3 separate regions of the Homo sapiens genome follow, and regions 1 and 3 are each linked to region 2. Evidence: promoter capture Hi-C in human tissues and cell types (Jung and others, 2019). All regions are on one chromosome and are shown on one strand. Each heading gives the region's core, a stretch centred on a gene start or on the middle of the fragment in contact. The rest is flanking DNA. Distances are from core to core; before and after follow the strand shown.

The links. The method cuts DNA at HindIII sites, captures the fragments that hold promoters and counts their contacts. A contact is called where the count stands out against the background at its distance.
Region 1: the fragment with the promoter of LRRC59 here is called in contact with a fragment that was not itself captured in region 2 in 1 of the 25 tissues and cell types used here (pancreas).
Region 3: the fragment with the promoter of MRPL27 here is called in contact with a fragment that was not itself captured in region 2 in 2 of the 25 tissues and cell types used here (dorsolateral prefrontal cortex and lymphoblastoid cells).

What each region holds. Positions count from the first base shown.
Region 1 is chr17:50,394,878-50,399,183 of GRCh38, forward strand. LRRC59 (leucine rich repeat containing 59) reads right to left here and starts at 2,646. Exons shown (of 7, transcript NM_018509.4): 1 at 2,336-2,646; 2 at 52-111. The coding sequence starts at 2,440. LRRC59-AS1 (LRRC59 antisense RNA 1) reads left to right here and starts at 47. Exons shown (of 2, transcript NR_199069.1): 1 at 47-115; 2 at 2,339-3,680. RefSeq lists a silencer at 2,623-2,692. The HindIII fragment of the contact is 9,986 bases long and covers 1,186-4,306 here.
Region 2 is chr17:50,803,392-50,807,297 of GRCh38, forward strand. No RefSeq gene overlaps it. Among named protein-coding and RNA genes, the nearest start is that of WFIKKN2, 30 kb to the right of the region's middle. RefSeq lists a silencer at 2,776-2,997. The HindIII fragment of the contact is 6,487 bases long and covers 1-3,906 here.
Region 3 is chr17:50,371,869-50,376,268 of GRCh38, forward strand. MRPL27 (mitochondrial ribosomal protein L27) reads right to left here and starts at 1,316. Exons shown (of 4, transcript NM_016504.3): 1 at 1,263-1,316. The coding sequence starts at 1,302. It overlaps EME1 (essential meiotic structure-specific endonuclease 1), which reads left to right and starts at 1,361. Exons shown (of 9, transcript NM_152463.4): 1 at 1,361-1,409; 2 at 3,317-4,115; 3 at 4,198-4,325. The coding sequence starts at 3,341. RefSeq lists enhancers at 850-1,319, 1,460-1,679. The HindIII fragment of the contact is 32,602 bases long and covers 1-4,400 here.

The sequences.
Region 1 (4,306 bases), core at 1,396-3,895, 410 kb before region 2:
GGAGATGCATCCAAGGCACCAGAAGGAGTCACGGCTGCATGCCAATCTTACCGGTAGAGTAGTCAGTTTATTACAAGACAGATCCAGGATGGTGGCCTTTGGAAGGGCAGCCTAGGTAAAAGAGGATGAGAAAAACATGTCAGACCAACATCTGGAACAATTCACTGACATATGTTAATGAAGCATTTTCCAGAGAATGTTCCCATGATTAGGAAAGGCCTTTTAAAATGGCAGTAAAGAGTAATGTTCCTGGGAATAAGAGGAAAAATAAGCCAGTCAACCATGATCTAAGGAAGAATGCAAAGAGAAGGGATGTGGCTGTACAACCTCCAAGAAGGTAAACCTTAGGCGAGGCACAGGGACTCACACCTGTAGTCTCATAGTCTCAGCTACTCAGAAAGCTGAGACAGGAGGATCGCTTGAGCCCAGGAGTTCAGGAGTTTGAGGCCGGCCTGCACAACACAGTGAGACCCCATCTCAAAAAAAAAAAAAAAGAAAGGAAGGCAGGCAGGCAGGCAGGCAAGCAAAATTTAGATTCTTAGACATTATTCCTAGCACTTTAAAAATAAATATTACCCAGCGTCCCTCTTATTAGGTTTCAGGGCAGGGACAGTGTCTAATAAAGCTTTGCAATTTCCATATTCCCCAGTTCAGGCCCTTCCTCAGAACAGGTACTCAATATCCATACATGTTGCCTGAATCATGACTGATCGAGTAAGTAGCGGAGTGAATGACAGAGTGAAAAAACAAGGCCCTGCCGGGTGCGGTGGCTCACGCCTGTAATCCCACCACTTTGGGAGGCTGAGGCAGGCAATCACCTGAAGTCAGGAGTTCGAGACCAGCCTGACCAACACGGAGAAACCCTGTCTCTACTAAAAATAGAAAATTAGCCAGGCATGGTGGCACACGCTTGTAATCCCAGCTACTCGGGAGGCTGAGGCAGGAGAATCGCTTGAACCCGGGAGGCAGAGGTTTCAGTGAGCCGAGATCACTCCTGGGCAACAACAGCAAAACTCCATCATCCAAAAAAAAAAAAGGCCCTCACAGCCCATCTCTATTTTCCCATGGTGTCCAGGCTGGACAAGCTCAGCAAAACTTTCTCCCTAAGGTTAATGCTGGACTGTTCAGATGCCTGGAGTATATGGTTTCAGAGAGCAGTCCTAGGGCAGGGTGAAATAAGGCTGGCCATCTATCTTCCTGGGGTAGAAAAGGAGGCATATATTCAGTTAAGGATCCTCTGGCAACCTGCACTTTCTGTCACAAAGTCGTAAAAGTGAAGTTTGACCACCTAAAAAAGTTTTAAATACTACAGCGGGAAAAACACAACAACAGCTACAAGTATCAGTATTTGCTCCTTCCAAGCATTTTCCATTACAATGGTATTTAACCTCCCAATAAGCGTATGAGATGGAAACTATTATCACCATTGTATAGATGAGGAGATCTAGGCATAAAGGCTAACTAGCTTGCCAAGGGCACTCGGCTATTAAGCAATGGAGCTGGGAGGAGCTAGGAACCCGGTTCTAACCACTGTAATACCCGTCCACGGTGGAAGAAAGACTGGGCCCAGCGCCCAAGGCAAATGTAATTTATCAACGGCAGAAAGCAAAGTGTGGGTCACCCAAAGTGAGTCTAGTAGGGCGTTGGCGCGGGTGGGAGGGGGAACGGAGTGGGAAAAGGAGGGATGTGGGAACTAGCTCCACGCTGACAAAACTAGATGCCTGCTATCTCTCTGGAGCTGTAAGCTTCAGTTTACAGGGGAAAGGTTGGGGGAGAGAGGGGCGAAAGGGACTCCCGCCAGTTTCAGCGGAATTCAGATGACAGTTTACCAGCCAAGCTGGGGGGAGACTTTACTTTCTTCGAGTTAGGCTGCCTCAGGGCTCGGGCAGCCAGCTGGAATTGCCAGCTTCCTAGAAGAGCCAGGTTCTGGGCCACACCCAGGTCTACCAGGAGGCCTACTCCCCTGGAACAAGTCACTCATTCATTCTCGAATACATCCAGTAACTGCTCCGTGTGCTCCTACTCAGAGTCGGGCACGGAGGTGGGCGCTGTGAAAGCCCCGCAAAGGTGACAGATTCGCTTCTTAGCCTGTAAAAAGCCTAGGGCCAGAGAAGCAGATCTTCCCTATGTTCTGGAACTGCGCCAAAGTGACACGTGTACATCCCGGGAAGAACCTTGGGCTGGACGCGGCCTCCTAGGGGACTTAGTCCCACCACCCCGCTTCTTTTTAAAGAAAAGGAAACTGATGCTTTTAGAGAAGAGGAAAGTAAGTGGCCCACGTAGGGGCCAGCGCCCGGCGAAGGTGGGCGCCTGGGCCTCGCGGGACGATACTGACCAGCTCCTTCACCGGGACCTCATTCAGGTCGCTGAGGCTCAGGTCCAGTTCGTTGCCGTCCAGCTTGTCGCGGAGGTTCCCGCCCTTGCTACCGGCCTTGGTCATGGTAACGCCGGCTGAGCGGGCCCCGGCTCCGGGGTTCCGGCGGGTGAAAGGAGCTGAAATGTCGCTTGTCAGTTCAGCGGCCCCCCACCCAAACGACGACGCCTGAGCCCTCCGTCGCCGCCGATGCGAGACCGCCTCCGCCCGCTGGCCGCACTCCGAGCCTCGCGCCTAGCTCCCACCGGTGCCGCGACGACGACCACTTCCGTGTCCACGTCACCTTCCGCGACCACTGAGATGGGCTGGGCCAGAGCGGCCCGAGCGTGTGCGGGCACGCCCCCTGGTGCCCAGGGTGATGCACTGCACGTCGCCGCCGCCGGAGGGGTGGGGTTGGAGGCTGCGAGCTCGGTTCACGTTCACCCGTGGCCCGCGGGCATTATTGCTGGCAGTGCCACGAGGCGAAAGGGCACGGACTGGGCGCCAGAAGACTGGGTTGACATCCAATACTGACCTCATCAGATCACCCCAATCCCCCTGATTAGGAGCAGAAGCTGGGTGTCCTCTAAAACTGCTCCCTGTCCTCTACTTAACCCCCGAATAACCATCATGGGGAAAACTCTTCTTCCTGAATTTCTCCTCTCTCCTCCCCACTCACTGCCTCAGTGCTTGTCTCTGTCCTTCCATCCACTTTCACCCAGCTCCCCGGTGATCTTTCTAAAAATCTGGCCAAGTCTCTCCCCTACGTAAAACCCTTCAAACTTGCAGCTACCTCTAGGATACGGACCACTTTCCTTTGGAAGCTGGGTCCTGCCTGCTTTCGCAGCTTCCTCACACGCTCCAGTCCCTGCCTGGCCTAGATGCTGTGTAGATTTCCAGGAGGTGGCTCCCACGTCTGGCCCTCCCCAGCGATGGCCCTCCCTCCCCCCCACTCACCTCTGTCTAGCTAATTCCTTAGTCCTTCAGGAAATCTCCCCTGAACACCGTGAATGCCAGACTGAGTTAGCGCCCCCCCCAACCAACTTAGGTCCCTGTTTGCTACTTTATCATCAGAGACAGTAGAGCTTGATGGCCAAGTGGGACCTCTGGCACTAATACCTATCCACTGGGTATTCATCCTGGCTCTGCCACTTGCTACTTATAAAACCGTAGACAATCACCAGGCTTCAGTCTTATCTATGAATCAATCTATGAGACATGTAGCTAACAGAGGTTGGGGAGAACTGAAGGAGTAAAACACACCAAGAGCTTACAGCAGTCACTGGCACTTAGTAAGTACCCAATAAATATTAGCTACAATTCATGATCCACCTTGTATTATACTCATCTTTATGTGTCTGTCCTTCATTCTGGACTGTGAGGACAGGGATTTTTGTCTTAATCATCTTCGTATGCCCAGAGTTGGCATACCCTGATGCAGGGTAGCTACTCATTCAGATGTCTGTTGAATAAATGAATAGATGGATGGATGAATGAATGAATGAATGAAGGAAGGAAGCACTTTACCCACTCCAAACCTCAGTTTACTCATTTTGAAATAGGGATATTAAAGCTTATCTCAGAGGGGCCGAGCAGGATAGCTCACACCTGTAATCCCAATACTTGGGAGGCCAAGATGAGAGGATTATTTGAGGCTAGGAGTTCAAAACCAGTCTGGGCAACATAGCAAGACCCCATCTCTAAAAAAATAAAAAATAAAAAATCTTGTCTCAGAGGGAAACTATGAACACCAAATAAAGTAAGTGCAATTGTTACGGGGGGTGGGTGGCAGGGGTCCTTGTTCTTAGAACTCCCAAGATGGTGGCGGGCCACTTCCAAGATGGCGGCAAGCCTCTTGTTCTCTGACCTGGGTTTCTTGGCCTCACGCATTCCAAGGAATGGAATCTTGGGCCATGCAATGAGTGTTATAGCTCTATTCAGCTCAATTAGGAC
Region 2 (3,906 bases), core at 1,097-3,596:
TGGAAGGACACCAGGAAGCTGAGAATGGCAGCAACTGGGGTGTCTCTGAAGACCTCACAGGCCACCGTTAGAGACCCAGCCCCTGTGGGCTTCAGCAGCTCCAGGCCACCTCCTTCCAGTCCTGCCCCCTGCACCTGTGAGGCAAGCTTGGCAGAAAAGTCCGGAGAAAGAGATCCAAAGGGTCTGGCTTGTAACCTCTTTAGGTGGGAGAAACGAGTTCAGTTTGAATCACAGGCCTCACCCTGCAGCCTGCGGCAGAGTCTTGGGGAAAGAAAGAAGCTTTGCTTTCATTAAAACTCAGAAACAGCCAGAGGCACCTTTTTCTTAAAGCCAGTATCTGCAGAGAAAAACAGCAGACTGGTCTCGCTTAGTAAGTGAAACAGAGGGACCTAGTTTAGATGGGGAAAAAGAAACACAAAACAAAGGACAAGAACCCAGTGAGTTTGCTGAGCGTATTTGCAGCTGAAGTGATTGACAGTGGGTGCAGGTCCTGAACCATGACTGTGTCCTGTGCTATCGAGCTTCATTTCACTCAGTTACCTAAAGTGTGTTCTACATCCTCGAGATTTATAATGATGATAATGGGGATGATAATGACTCATGTATTTTATTGTTCCTACTTTTCAGGCACAGTTTTTTGTTTGTTTGTTTGTTTTTGAGATGGAGTCTCGCTCTGTCGCCCAAGCTAGAGTGCAGTGGCAGATCTCAGCTCATTGCAAGCTCCGCCTCCCAGGTTTAAGCGATTTGCAGCTAATTTTTTGCATTTTTAGTAGAGACAGGGTTTCACCATGTTGGCCAGGCTGGTCATGAACTCCTGACCTCAAGTGATTCGCCTTCCCTGGCCTCCTAAAGTGCTGGGGTTACAGGCGTGAGCCACCACGCCCGGCATCAGGCACAGTTTTTAAGTGAGTTATATGTCGTAAATCCTCAAAATATTCCTATGGAGTAAGTACTATTATCCCATTGTACAGATGAGGAACCCGAGGCACAAAGTTATATGAAAAAGGCTCTGTAGAAAAAAATTAGAACAACAAAAATTATCTTTTTCTCTCTCTTTTTTTTTTGTTGTTTTTGCTTTTTTGGTTTTTTTTTTATGGAGATGAGGGTCCCACTATGTTGCCCAGGCTGGTCTCGAACTCCTAGGCTTCACGATCCTCCTGCTTCGGCCTTCCAAAGTGCTGGGATTACAAGCATGAGCCTCTGCACCTGGCCACTCATCCTTGTGTATGGAGTGGCTGGACAAAACACAAAGTCACTTAAGATAGACACTGAAGAGTCTACTTTAATTGCACATAGGGCCTTTGCCTAATGAGTCACATAATCGGGGCTCCGTGGAGTCATTAATATTTCACATCTTTTCCCATCAGCACAAAGTAAACACTATTTTAATAACCGCAATACTGCTTCTTTTTTTGGGCCCAGGAAATTGCTTGGTTCATTGTTCCATTTTAGAAAAGATTAAACAAAATTGATTTTCATAATTGTCATTCTGTACTTTTTTTTTGAGACAGAGTTTCACTCTTGTTGCCTATGCTGGAGTGTGATGGCGCAATCTCAGCTCACCGCAACCTCCACCTCCACCTCCCGGATTCAAGCGATTCTCCTGCCTCGGCCTCCCAAGTAGCTGGGATTACGGGCATGCACCACCACACCTGGCTACTTTTGTATTTTTAGTAGAGATGGGGTTTCTCCATGTTGGCCAGGCTGGTCTTGAACTCTCGACCTCAGGTGATCTGCCCGCCTTGGCCTTCCAAAGTGGTGGGATTACAGGCGTGAGCCACCGTGCCCTACAGTTTTTTTTTTTATTTTTTAGACAGAGTCTGGACAGAGTTTTGCCCTGTCATCCAGGCTAGAGTGCAGTGGTGTGATTTCGGCTCACTGCAATCTCCACCCCCCAGATTCAAGCAATTCTGCCTCAGCCTCCTGAGTAGCTGGGACTACAGGCGCACACCACCATGACCAGCTAACTTTTGTATTTTTAGTAGAGACAGGGTTTCACCATGTTGGCCAGGCTGGTCTTGAACTCCTGACCTCCAGTGATCCCCTGCCTCAGCCTCCCAAAGTGCTGGGATTACAGGTGTGAGCCACCACACCTGGACTCATTCTGTACTACTCGTCCCCAAGGGGAAATCTTATACTTTCTGATTCCACAATAAGTTCTGAGGAGGAGGTGAGGAGGGTTGCTGGTCAGACAGACACTGGGGAATCTACCTAGGAAGTGTCAATAGCCAGTTCAGCACACGCAGAAGTCCTGGCTGGACAGAGGAGGGCCCAGGTGTTCTGCATGTGGGAACACAGTCCTTAGGAACAGCTGGCTTGGAGGCGATGCTGCCTAAGCCAGCAACTTTTTCCAGGCCCCACTGGACGGCACCCAAGGACGTTATCCAGGCGAATGGTGACTCCCTGCAGGATCCATTCATTAGCCACATGGGGTGGGGGGAATGACATGGGGTGGGGGGAATCCCACAAGCCAAGGGTCAGTTACCAGGTGCAAACTGTCCAAGGAACACCTGGAGAACTTTCTTGCACTTTCTGACCTCCAGGGTCTCGACAAGCCTGGGCGTGCCCCAGAGGTCCAGTTTTTATGAATATTGGAGCTCCATGCTGTTCATCCAGGAAGCTCAAAGTTAAATGAAACACCTGGGGACCCCACAGAGTTATTATATTGTGGGGGGGTGCTAGTCTGGGCCCAGGCAGGATGCCCCATTTTCTCCACTTCAGGGAGCACCTGGGATTTGTGGTGGGAGATGGAGCTGCCCCCGTGAGGACTCTGGCTTGAAAGTGACAAAATCCAACATGAGCCAGCTTGGGCAGAAAGGGGGAATTTGCTAGAATCAACCAAAAACTTCAGCTGCACACTTGGCCGCTCCGCATGTGGGAAAGGCTGAGCTGCAGAGACCCTGCATCAGGTAGGGTTCCGGGATGGCATGGCAGCCCCACTAGGGCCACGTGGTTGGAATAGGGGGAGAAGCTGCCCCCAGGAAGAAAGGGTGTTCCCTGAAGAGGGCATGCGGCAGATCAAGAGGCAAATGTGCGCCTCACCAAGGAACTTGGCTTAGCGTTGCCAAATTTTCTCTGTGTTGGATTAGGGTCAAACTCTTGTTTGACTTGGCACAGAAGCTTGGAGGCCCGCTGGCTGCATGACTGCCTCACTCAGAGATGAGTATGGAGGGTCTAGAGGGGGCGCTGTGGGGCTCTGGCCAGAAACAGCCGAAAGTAGAAAACCATCCAAATATCCAAAAATTGATGAATGAATCAACACAATGTAGAACCTACAAACAACAGGCTGGGCGCAGTGGCTCATGCCTGTAATCCCAGCACTTTGGGAGGCCGAGGTGGGTGGATCACTTGAGGTCAGGAGTTTGAGACCAGCCTGGCCAACATGGTGAAACCCTGTCTCTACTGAAAATACAAAAATTAGCCAGGCGTGGTGGTGCACAATTGTAATCCTAGCTACTCGGGAGGCTGAGGCAGGAGAATCACTTGAACTCGGGAGGCGGAGGCTGCAGTGAGCCGAGATCGAACCACTGCACTCCAGCCTGAGTGACAGGGTGAGACTCCATCTCAAAAAAAAAAAAAAAAGAACCAACAAACAACAGAATATTATTCACCCATGTAAAGCAGTGAAGTACTGACACCCACCACAGTATAGATGAACCCTGCAAACCTCATGCTAAATGAAAGAAGCCAGACACAAAAAGGCCAATATTGTATGACTCCATTTATGTGAAATGTTTAGATAGGCAAATCCACAGAGACAGGAAGCAGATTTGCGGTTGCCAGGGGCTGTGGGGAGGGGGAATGGGAGTGATGGCTAATGGATTTCCTTTGGGGATGATGAAAAAGTTCTGGAACTAGGTAGTGGTGATGGTTGCACAACAATGTGAATGTCCTCGATGCCACTGA
Region 3 (4,400 bases), core at 66-2,565, 430 kb before region 2:
CTTCACCCTACTCCCCATCCTCCTCCTCAAAGTAAATGGTACCACCATTCATCCAGTTGCTTAGGCAGAAACCAGAGTCATTGCAGATTCCTTCTCTTTGCTGTCCTCACATATTGTTCACCAGCAAGCTCTGTGGATGCTAACTCCAAAACAGATCTCAAATTCATCCGTTTTCCTCCAAGTTCACTGCCACCACAAACATCTTGGCTAAATCATCTCTCCTCAGGGCTATTACGACTTTCCATTTGATTTCCTCATTTCCACTCCTATCCCCTTTAAATTTACATAAGAGCAATAGTTTGCTTCTCAAAATGTAAAACTGGCTCAAGTCACTCTCCTGTCCCTCACTCTACACAGGTCTAGGTCTCCTGTCATTCTTTTTTTTTTGGGGGGGGGGGATAGGGCCCCATTCTGTCACCCAGGCTGGAGTGCAGTGGTATGAACATAGCTCACTGCAACCTCGACCTCCCGAGCTCAGGTGATCCTCCCACCTCAGCCTCCTGAGTATCTGAGACCACAGGCAAGCGCCACTACACCCAGCTAATTTTTGTATTTTTTGTAGAGATGGGGTTTTGCCATGTTGCCCAGTCGGTCTTGAACTCCTGGGCTCAAGCGATCCGCCCACCTAGGCCTCCCAAAGTGTTGGGACTACAGGCGTGAGCCATCACGCCCCGCCTGTCATTCTTTAGGTTTTAAATGTTATCTCCTCAGAAGCCTTCCTTCACCGTCCAATCTAAAAAAAGACACACACACAGACACACATTATCCTTCTTCACAGCACTTGCCAGTCTACATCTACTTTATATGTTCATTTATTGCCTTATGCACCAGAGAGAACCGTTCGGGGGCTAGAAGCCAAGTCTTCACGTTTTCTGCTGATTTTCCGAACACCTACCGCCGTGTCTAGCACAAAGTAAGACCTCAATCTGCTGAATCAATAGATTAATTTTTTCAACCCCAATATGCCAATGTTACTAATACTTCTACAGAGAAAGGACCCACCCAAATCCCCAACCGCCAAGGAACCCGTCCGTGCTGCTGAGGCAGGAGAAAGACAAGTGCTCTTCAAACGCCCTCACTCACGGCTCCACCCAGGATGTGTCACGTGACCAGCGACACCGTCCCTCAAACCTGGAGTACCCCACACACTTCCCCTCGCATCCAAGGTCCTCCGCGGGGATCAGTGTCACCTCCTTCCCTCCCTGCTGGAGCTCCACTCTGCCTCCCCGCCTCACCCCGCTCTGACTACTGCGTCCCATTACCGGCTGTCCGGGTCCTCAGCGCCAACACCACCGACGCCATGCTTTCGATCACTCACTTCCGGTCTCGAAAAGTTTCTACTTCCGCTATCAGGAGATCTACTTCCGGGCCCTGCGTGGCAGTTGAAAGAGTGGCGGGAGAAGTTGCAGGTGAGCGTCCCCGGTCGCAGGCCTGCGGATTGGGCAGGGCTTCCCTCCTGAACACCGCTCTGCAGAATCTTGGTGGCTAAGGTGTCCAGGAGCCTCTGCAGCGGACCGCCAGCCTGAGAGGCGCAGAGCTTGTCGGGCAGGGGCCCGCTTGTCCCACTCCCCTGATTTGCAGATGTCAACGGAGGCCCAGCGAAGGGTCAGAGATGAGGCCCCCTCCCTAGTCATTCAACTTACTCTACTTAGCCAGCTGTGTGCCAGATGCTGTACTAAGCGCGGTGGATGCATTATTTTATTTAATTCTCACTACCTTATAAAATGGGTGCTGTTACCATCCCTGTTTTACTAAGGAAGAAACTGAGGCCTAGGCAGGTTACATGTCTCCTTCTGGGTCATACCTACAGTGTTAGTAAATGTTCAAGAAATGATTAGCTTTGCATATGACCCAGCAATTCTACTCCTAGGTATATACACGAAAGGGATTTGAAAACATACCCCCACAAAAACTTGTATGTCAGTGTTCATAGCAGCATTATTCATAACAGGCAAAAAAAGGAAACAAATTAAATGTCCAAGTGATGAATGGATAAACAAAATGTAGCATATCCATACAGTGGAATATTATTCAGTCATGAAAAGCAATTAACTACTGATACAGGCTACATCATAGATAAACCTTGAAAACAAGCTGAGTGAAAAAAGTCAATCACAAAAGGCCACATAGTGTATGATTCTATTTATATGAAATATCCAGAATAGGCAAATGCATAGAGACAGATTTATGGTTGCCAGGAGCTGGGGAGGGAGGGAAAGGACAGTGACGGCTTAATGGCTGCAGGAATTCTTTTTGAGGTGATAAAATAGTGATGATGGTTGCACAACATTGTGAATATACTAAAATCTACTGAATGTACACTTTTAAAAGGATATTATGCTGTGCAAATTATATCTCTATTTTTATTTTTATTTTATTTTTCTTTTGAAGCAGGGTCTCACTCTGTCACCCGGGCTGGAGTGCAGTCGTACAATCACAGCTCACTGCAGCCTTGACCTCCCAGGCTCAAGCAATCCTCCCACCTCAGCCTCCTGAGTATCTGGGACTACAGGTGTGAGCCACCATACCCAGCTAATTTTTGTATTTTTTTGTAGAGACGAGTTCTCACTATGTTGCCCAGGCTGTTCTCGAACTCCTGGGCTCAAGTGATCCTTCTGCTTTGGCCTCCCAAAGTGCTGGGATTATACGCATGAGCTACCATGCCCAGCCTATATCTCAATTTTTAAAAAGAACAGTTTTTGGCCAGGTGCAGTGGTTCACACCTGTAATCTCAGCACTTTGGGAGGCCAAGGCGGGCGGATCACTTGAGGTCAGGAGTTCAAGACTAGCCTGGCGAACATGATGAAAACGCATCTCTACTAAAAATACAAAAATTAGCCAGGTGTGGTGGTGGGGCGCCTGTAATCCCAGCTAGGCTGAGGCAGGAGAATCACTTGAACCTGGGAGTGAGGTTGCAGTGAGCCAAGATTGTGCCACTGCACTCCAACGTGGGTGCCAGAGTGAGACTCCATCTCAAAAAAAAAAAAGAAGAACTTTTGACATCTCCATTTCAAACGTGAAGATAAACAAGGGGTTGGAGGTGTTAAATCTTGTTACCACCTCCCCCCATTAAAATTTTGTAATGGTAACTCTACTTTGTTTATACTTCAGCTTGACCTGGAAAGAATTTGAGGAGGATTCCTGTTAGATTACCAGGAGTTAGAGTTCCAGATTGAATGTGTTGGGGCCATGTCATATTTCTCTGTTTCTGTATTCTCTATATCTTATATTTATGTCATAAAGCCTGGCTATGGAACACAGCTAGTGGACTGAATTGAATGCTCCAGTCTGTGTCATATGTCTCTTTTCCTTTTAGGGAATTATTTGATAGCACATACTGATGGCTCTAAAGAAGTCATCACCCTCACTGGATTCTGGTGATAGTGACTCTGAGGAGTTGCCAACATTTGCCTTTCTGAAGAAGGAACCATCTTCAACAAAGAGGAGACAGCCTGAAAGGGAAGAGAAGATTGTAGTGGTTGACATCTCAGATTGTGAAGCCTCCTGTCCTCCAGCACCAGAGTTATTTTCACCACCTGTCCCAGAAATAGCTGAAACTGTCACACAAACACAGCCAGTCAGGTTGCTAAGCAGTGAAAGTGAAGATGAAGAAGAATTTATTCCTCTGGCTCAAAGGCTTACATGTAAGTTTCTGACCCACAAGCAACTGAGCCCTGAGGACTCTAGCTCCCCAGTTAAAAGTGTTTTGGATCATCAAAATAATGAAGGTGCATCATGTGACTGGAAAAAGCCCTTTCCAAAGATCCCTGAAGTTCCCCTCCATGATACCCCAGAGAGGAGTGCAGCAGATAACAAGGACCTGATCTTAGATCCATGCTGTCAGCTTCCAGCCTACCTGTCTACCTGCCCTGGCCAGAGCAGCAGCTTGGCAGTAACCAAAACAAATTCTGACATCCTTCCACCCCAGAAGAAAACCAAGCCGAGTCAGAAGGTCCAGGGAAGAGGCTCACACGGATGCCGGCAGCAGAGACAAGCAAGGCAGAAGGAAAGCACCCTGAGAAGACAGGAAAGAAAGAATGCAGCACTGGTTACCAGGATGAAAGCCCAGAGGCCAGAGGAATGCTTAAAACACATCATTGTAGTGCTGGATCCAGGTCCTCACATGTGTCTTTGTCCTGTGCTGAGTTATCTGCGTTCTGGACCCCCCACTGACAGTCCCTTTTCCATCTGTTGCAGTGCTCTTACAGATGGAAGGTGGGGGCCAGCTCCTAGGAGCACTGCAGACCATGGAGTGCCGCTGTGTGATTGAGGCGCAGGCTGTGCCTTGCAGTGTCACTTGGAGGAGAAGGGCTGGGCCGTCTGAGGTAGGAGTTTTCTGGCTGACATTTCCTCCCTCTCCTCCCCTTACAATTACAGGATAAATATGCTTTTATTTTAAA